2 separate regions of the Homo sapiens genome follow, and region 1 is linked to region 2. The links are contacts of gene promoters, found by promoter capture Hi-C in human tissues and cell types (Jung and others, 2019). All regions are on one chromosome and are shown on one strand. The core of a region is centred on a gene start or on the middle of the fragment in contact, and the rest is flanking DNA. Distances in the headings are between cores, read along the strand shown.

Evidence for each region. Contacts are between HindIII fragments. The study calls those that stand out against the background at their distance.
Region 1: a fragment that was not itself captured here is called in contact with the fragment with the promoter of SLC27A2 in region 2 in 1 of the 25 tissues and cell types used here (lymphoblastoid cells).

The regions. Positions count from the first base shown.
Region 1 is chr15:49,124,683-49,128,811 of GRCh38, reverse strand. It overlaps COPS2 (COP9 signalosome subunit 2), which reads left to right. Exons shown (of 13, transcript NM_004236.4): 12 at 52-110; 13 at 718-4,129. The coding sequence ends at 862. Among named protein-coding and RNA genes, the nearest start is that of COPS2, 29 kb to the left of the region's middle. The HindIII fragment of the contact is 3,555 bases long and covers 664-4,129 here.
Region 2 is chr15:50,180,584-50,184,364 of GRCh38, reverse strand. It overlaps SLC27A2 (solute carrier family 27 member 2), which reads right to left and starts at 2,169. Exons shown (of 10, transcript NM_003645.4): 1 at 1,460-2,169. The coding sequence starts at 1,937. It also overlaps a transcript of ATP8B4 not described here. RefSeq lists silencers at 1,568-1,667, 1,938-2,277. The HindIII fragment of the contact is 4,473 bases long and covers 1-3,063 here.

The sequences.
Region 1 (4,129 bases), core at 1,192-3,691, 1.1 Mb after region 2:
TTATGAAGTCTTTAAAATGTTAATTGGTATATAACAAGTCTTTTGTCTTAGGAGTTAAACATAGATGTAGCTGATGTGGAGAGCTTGCTGGTGCAGTGCATATTGGATAAGTAAGTACTTTACTATTTTTTATCACAAAATATTTGGTACCGTAAGTTTTGAATAATAGTGACAAAGGTAACAATTGGATTCTTGATTATTCATAAAAAGCACCCTTGGGTATGGTTTTCTATTAGAAGAGATATATATGTATGTGTGATGGTTTTTGATGAATGAGCGTATTAAACACATCTCAGAAAAAGTTCTAAATGATTTTTCAGAAGGATTTCTTATTATATACAGCCAAAGAATTATTTAATGAATAGTATTTATGTATGTTTTTAAGTATAGGGTATGTGGTACATAACATTTTTGAAATTGTATCTTACTTGAAAACAGTACATTGTTTAAAGCTTCACAGGTGATACTTGCCTTTGATTAATCGGATAAATCTATGCCTTATGGGTCTTTCAGTGAAACTGATGAAAAGTATCTGAAATCTGGTTTCTATCTAGAGTTTGAATAACACAGTGAAGTTAAAACTAACACTGAACTCATTTAATGTAGGCAGCTGCTTTTTTTTTGGCATTTGTTGATACTGTATTTTATGAAACATTAATCCAGAAACTGTGCTTGATGAAAGTCTTTTGTAGACACATCTTATTTATTTCTTTCTAGCACTATTCATGGCCGAATTGATCAAGTCAACCAACTCCTTGAACTGGATCATCAGAAGAGGGGTGGTGCACGATATACTGCACTAGATAAATGGACCAACCAACTAAATTCTCTCAACCAGGCTGTAGTCAGTAAACTGGCTTAACAGAGAACAAGCTTTTACAGACGTCCTTAAGGCAACAGTGCAGAGATGTAATCCTTAAAAGAACTGGGAATGGCAAAACTACTGTCGGTTGATGTGTCCTGAAAATTATTGGAGTTATGGCAGAAGTGCTTTTTTGATCAACTGGTTTGTGTTTTGCTGCTGCATTTATCCCAAGAAAAACAGCTTTAATCTCCAGAAGAAAACCAAAATACCATGGGATTTATGCTGTATTGACATCTTGCCCTAAACGTACAACATCATAGTAATTTGTCATGGGCAACATGACCAGAGAGAAGATTTTTGTCATGATTTTAAATACACTGACACGCTACTGTTGGTTAAATTTAAACATGTTTTACCTGCAGAAATTCTCTCACAAATAACCTGCAATAACTTGAAATGCATACCCTTTTGAACACTTCCTTTTCTCATGTATAAATTAAAATGTTTGCTGCATTTTGCAAAATGTCAATTCTCTAAAAATGTGTCCGTATATTTCTGTACCTGCAGTGTAGTAAAGGTTTAGACGAAACCCCATAATTATAGTGGCATACTGTCACTTAGGTTTCAAGCAGCAAAATAAACAGTGCAGCTCAGAAATTGTAGTTTGGTTCTTGATGTGTTTTTATTACATTTGGAGTTGTTTTGTTTTTTAGTACCTTCGAAATTTCAAATTATTTTATCTTCAGTTAATGATTTTAAAAAGCCTGGGGGCAAATAAGTTGGTTATTTGCTTTCAAGTTTTTAAAAGTAGTCTTTATTGATAGAGTAAGGAGAACTACTTTCTAACAAAACACGTGCATAGTTATGACAGTGATGCTTTAAAGGAATAAAATTCTTTTTTTTTAAAGAGTGATATTCCTTTTCAAAAGAATACTAACTCTCAGAATGTTCACTTTAAACGAATATGCCAGAACATAGACAGCTAAATGAATGTTACTCTGCATAGTGATCATGCTGGAAGGTTATTTCCTAATGCCAGCAATCTACCATTGCCCAAAACCTGCTGAGTTTACTCTTTTAGAATTGCATTCAAAGTTAATTTGTCACACACACTAAACTTTATGATTATACATTGTTTTAAAAAATATAGTATTAGGAAGCTTGATTATTTTTAGTTACCATTACTTGGCACCAAATGAAAGTTTCCAAAACTTCCACCTAACTTTGAGGTAATGCAGAAAGTATATAACTGGCTTTGAAGGCAATCCCAAAAGAGTTTTAAAGGTTTTTTGAGCAGTGGCAGTATACTTAGGAGAATGAACTGTGGCCTTCCAAGGTAACTACCTTAAAGGAACTCAGCTCATTTGAATGTATTGAGTTTTGGATGTATTTGTTTCATTTTTTAAAAAGTTCACATTATTTTATAGTGTCGAAAGGAAGAACTAGGATTAACATAATTTCTTTGGTTTTTCTATTGCTTGTTATTATTATGTAAAAACTGGGTGGCAGTTCAGAAGGAAGATTGTGGTTACAGAAGAGTGACAACCAAGAATTTTTTGATCATTAAATCAGATTTTATAAACAGTGGAAGGAGCATGGACTTAAAACAAGGCATGCTTATTCGGTTTTGTCAAAATTTTACGAAAATATGTGATATATATTTATACTAAAAATATATAATCCTTAGATTTAGAAAAGCAATCAGTTAATGTCTTTAGCAGACTAAAGCAGTATTAAACACAGGTACAAGTTGGAAATTGTAGAAAACGGAAAGAAAACAAAAGACAAAATGTCTATGGTAGGGAATAAAAGTTTAAGATATTATAAAATTATGTGTATTTTCTCTTTTACATAAATCATTTGTGAAAAGTGTGCTAAACTTTTTTTACAAGAGTGATATTAATTAGGATTTATTTTTCAATATAATTTGGAGACCCTTTGTTATCCAAATAAAAATGATGAGTTTTTGTGCCTGTATTCAAATATGTATGCATGTGATAACCCTTGAAAGCTAAAGCCCTTCTTAACTTTTGAGTTGATGGAATTAGAATTCAAAGATTTGAATGAAATGATTTAACCTTTATCCTCCAATTCTTACAGTGCCCAGTTCTCCTGTGCTATCTTTGCTTTGTACAATAGTGCATCTTCCACTTTCTAGAGAGAAAGCATGCACTTGTTATTTGGAAAACTGGGCTAAATATATAACAGTATCCAAAGTTATACCATAATAATTTATTGTAATTGTGTATTACATAGCTTTGTTTACCCAGATATAGGTGCGTTCTTTTTTTTCTGTTAGTCATCTGTGACTTTTGTTCTGGAATACAGGTTTTTAAATATATCTTAACAGTCTGACTAACTTAAAATAATTTATTCTTCCCTTAAAACATTTTTCTGTGTTTTTGTGCATCAAATATTGTAGAGTTGAAATCTTAGAGATTGCTTATCGAAATATAAATTTAGGGGAAGTTAAAAATCGATTGGCAAATTTGTAGCATTTATTCACTGATTAAATCTTTTCCACTTTTGTGAAAACCATACCAGTGGTTTACATCATATTGTAATGTGTTCATCTCATTCTTCTTTTTATCCCTAAACCTAGCTAAAAGTTACTGCAAAGAAATCTTTGGCTGCCACAAGTAGATGCTCTCTACTACAAGAGCTGGATTTCCATTACTCACTCTTGCTCTTACATTAAAGTTGTTGATTAAATACTTTTTCTCTACATCTTAATGTAACATAACTGATTTCTTTTTAAAGATGAGTATATATGTACTAAGTAATGCTCTCATTACATGAGTCCCTTCTAACTACAGGCTGATACATCTTTCAGGAAAACTGAGAACCTAATATTTAAGTGAGGCCTATTTTAAATGAGCTATACTGTGGGTGGTAGTGTTTGTTACCTTATGTAAGACTTAGGTTTGTCTTAGACTGAAAAACTCTTATTCTTAATATTTAAAATATCCATGATGGTAGAAATTTTGTGGGAAATTTTCTTTTTTAATCAATAGTTACAGTTCTTCAGTAAACACAGGTATGTATGCTTTTGTGGTGTCAGTGTCAGTCTAAATCTATGGGTGAAGCAGTTAGTCCATAAGACAAAAAATTATTTGCCTAGTGGATTCCCTTTACCTCTTTTTAAGAAGCTCAGAGATCTGTAATCATTAATTTACTAAGGATTTTTTAAAATATTATTTTAGTCACTTTTAAACCTGAAAATTTCTCTTTTGATTTAGATTTTTGAAGTGAGGCTTGAGCATACACAAGTAAAGCTGGGAGTTTCATTCTTCATATGGGATTTATGACTAAATATTTCTAGCA
Region 2 (3,781 bases), core at 920-3,419:
GACACTTCATCCCTTCCAGCACACTTAACAGTTTACATCCATGCAGAGGAAAACAATAAGATGTAGGAAAGAGGCTGGGTGTGGTGGCTCACACCTGTAATCCCAGCACTTTGCGAGGCCAAGGTGGGTGGATCGCTTGATCTCAGGAGTTTGAGACCAGCCTGGGCAACATGGTGAAACCCTGTTTCTACCAAAAATAACAAAAAATTAGCTGGGCATGGTGGTGCATGCCTGTGGTCCCAGCTACTTGAGAGGCTGAGCTGGGAGGATCGCTTGAGCCTGGGAGGCAGAGGTTACAGTGAACTGAAATAGCGCCACTGCACTCCAGCCTGGGCAACAGAACGAGACTGTCAAAAAAAAAAAAAAAAAAGATGTAGGAAAGAGCATGGCTTCGAAGTTGGATAGAGCTAGGTTGGAATTTTAAGCCTCAGTTTTCTCAACTGTATAATGGTGGTGGTGGTGGTGGGGATAGTGATATGTTATCTCCCGGGGTAATAAAAGCATCTACTATAGGGCTTAGCACAGAAATGCATTCTAGAAAGCTGAGGCTCCTCGGCTCCCTCGACCCCTACCCTGTCACCCAGGTCTTTCAGCCCACTCCTGTGTAGGCCTCTTCTTACTGACTGAGAGAAGGAACCCTTGGTCCTTATTCAAGTGCAGAGACAAGCTCTCTGGGAGGGGAAAGCCATCAGCCCTGTGAGTAACAGGTTCTCTGTCACTTCCTGACCTTGTCATCACTTAAGTTACTGTTTCAAGTCTGGCTGAAATGTGGCAGGAGCTAACCACAGAACTGAAAGGGTCACTATTGTGATAGATGCAGTGGGGGCTCACAACGGTCCTGTAGCAGATCCCCAGTATCTTCTCCCTGGGGATCAGGTGGGGTCACCTTTGTTCTGCAGGGAGGGGACAGGATGCTAACAGCAGTTGAGAGCTGGAAGCAACATTGAAGCCTGCCTCATTAGAGAGGAGCAAACCAAGGGACAGAGAGGAGAAGTGACTTTCCCATGATCACACAGCCAGTCAAGCAGCAGAGGTGAGAAGAGCCCCTCTGGATCCACTAGAGTTCGCACTCAAGATCCTCTGCATTTTAATGCAGATGTTATAAGTATTGATTAAGAGCTTGGAATTTGGAGATAGATGGCTGGGCATGAGGCTTCACCTCTCAGGACCTCAGTGGTCTCATCTATAAAAGTCCTATAACAAAGCCTACCCATTGTGAGGATTAAAAACCACACTGCCTGTAGAGTGCTTAACACAGAACCTAGCACATTATCAGCTTCCACAACAGGTGGTCCTAAAAGATCATTATTTGCGATTCAAGGAAACACTGCCAACCTTTTTCTATACCTACAGTTCCGATCTGAACCTCCCTCTGCGAACCCCTTATGCCACGCTGTGGCTCGTCAGTCAAGGCGCCGAGAAGCCCTGGTGCCAGGGCAGGGCGATCCTCGGGGCTCACCTGGCGACACCAGCAGCACCTTCGCCCCGCAGCACTGGAAGCAGTGCAGCAGGGACTTCGCGCGGATGTTGTAATTGAGGCACGCCATGGCACAGCCCAGCTTCACCAGCCCCAGCCACAGCCACACGTAGGCCGGCTCGTTACCCATAAGGAGCGCCACGCAGTCTCCCTGGCGCAGGCCGAGGTGGTCGTGCAGCGCCCGGGCCACTTGATTGCTGCGCCGGTCCACCTGCGCGTAGGTGAGAGTCTCGTCGCGGAAGAGCAGAAAAGGCTTGTGTGGCGTCTGGCGCGCTTTCTCCAGGAACGCCCGCAGGATGGTGCGCGCCGGCCGCCGCTTCCCGTAGCTGCGCACCCTCCGGCCCACGGCGGCCACCTTCAAGAAGTAGCCTATGTCCTGGAAGAAGTATGGGCAGCAGAGGTTCACCAGGAGCGGCAGGAACAGCAGTCCCGCCAGGACTGTGTAGATGGCGGAAAGCATGACGGCTGCGGGGCCCTCTGTCCCAGCGAGGGCAGAGGGTTCACCCCGGGCGTGCAGCGCGGCGACTGGGCGGGCTCCGGGCGGACTGGCGGGCTGCGCCGGGGCGCACGCGGCGGGACGCCGGGCTCGCGTGAGATGAAGGGGAAGACAGAGCTCCTCCGCTGCAGGTACCGCCGCGGGCTCCGGAGCAGGTGTAGTCGTATGCGCGTTGCCGGGGGTTCCGGGCAGGACTGGCCGGCTGAGCCCGCCCCCTTGTGGGGGGCAGCCACCTGCTCTCCCGGCCCTCCCACGCGGTCCTCCCGGGGCTGGGCAGGCTGCCCTGCGGCTCACCAGGAGCCTCGGCCACTTCCCAGCTCGAGTCTGGAGGTCTGGGGTCAAGTCTGGACCTCCTCGCGTTGTGACCGAAGTACTTTACCTCTAGGAGCCACGGTTTCTTTAAATGGTGATGAGACGCGCTTAGCGGACGTTGGGAATATTAAAGGAGATATTGCAGGCGTGGGGCTATTATTTGTTACCACTAATAGAATGGCTTATGGAGATGACACTGTTATTACCGATAAAGTGCCTTATAAATGTCAGACAGTCCTATTATTTATTAATAGCGGGTACCAGGTGCCACTGCCAAACCAGAATCTCATCTCTCCTTCCTGGTCCCAAGGGCTTTCCGCCTGGTCTCTCTTTGTTTCTCAGATTTGCTTCCCAGCCCGACTGCCAGGCGGTCTCCTGTAGCGAAGGCTTCAAGGTTGAACAGAAATGCCTGTGGCAGTCACGTCCAGCTCATCCCAAGCCCTGCCAGGTGAGTGAGGGCAGGACACTCTAACCTAGTCGGCCCTGCCTGGTCGGGGGAGTCCTGATTTCGTGAAGAGCAGTGCTACACCGCACCACCTGAAATCAAGCTTTGACATTATTTTACGATTTTGTTCTGTTAAGTGATCCTGCTGTTCCCTCATGTTGAAAGTTGTCAAGTGTTGTCAGCACAGTTCACACATTTAATAAGTGGCTCTGTCAGAGAATAGTATAGTACAGAGGACATTGAGTAAGTGGTATTGGCATGACTCAAAAACCATTTCTTTTAGAGGAAATGTGAACCTTTCTTTTAATTTGCCTTAGTGCTACTTCTGTACGAAGTGAATGCTCACTACTTGCCACTGAGGAGGGTCAGGATCTAAGTAGTGTTTTATTTTCATCCTCTACTGTCCTCCTGTGTTCCTCTATCTTAATTTGATACGATAAATACAGATAATGCTTATTCCTCCCAGACACGCTGCTAGGAGCTTCCCTATGTTACATTTTGGGAGCCTGAGTTATTTTATACAGGTGGCACTTTCATGCTCATTTACAGACAAGAAAGGGAAGCTTAGGTGAATTGAGACAGCCGGTAAGTAATTCGTGGGTTTTGGAAATGGTATCTGTTTGGTCCCGGGGAACCAACTCTTAGCTTATTCTTAGTAACTATACTATGCTGTCCTCCTATTCTCTAGGTTTCTGTCCATGTCCTCTTTTTTTTTCGGTGTGTGTAAAACACACAAAAATGTTTCACATTCCCTCCAGGCCACCCCCTGCCGTTTTTTAGCCTCCTTTTCGTATCCCTAGTAACTGCGCAAGCAACCTTTCCCTTTTCCTGACTTTTTCATTTCTGATCCAGCTACCTGGTTGCATCATTTCCCTGGGGATGAGCTGGGGGCCTTCATCATCCCTGAGGAGAAAGCAGTAGAATTAACCAAAGTGAGGGCCCGACAGAAACCATTCTCATGTGCACTTCTTTCATGGTGAAGCTCAGAGCCAGCCCTTCCTTTTTCATCCCAATGCCACCCTCGTCCCTTGATGGCTAATCGCTTCTGTGT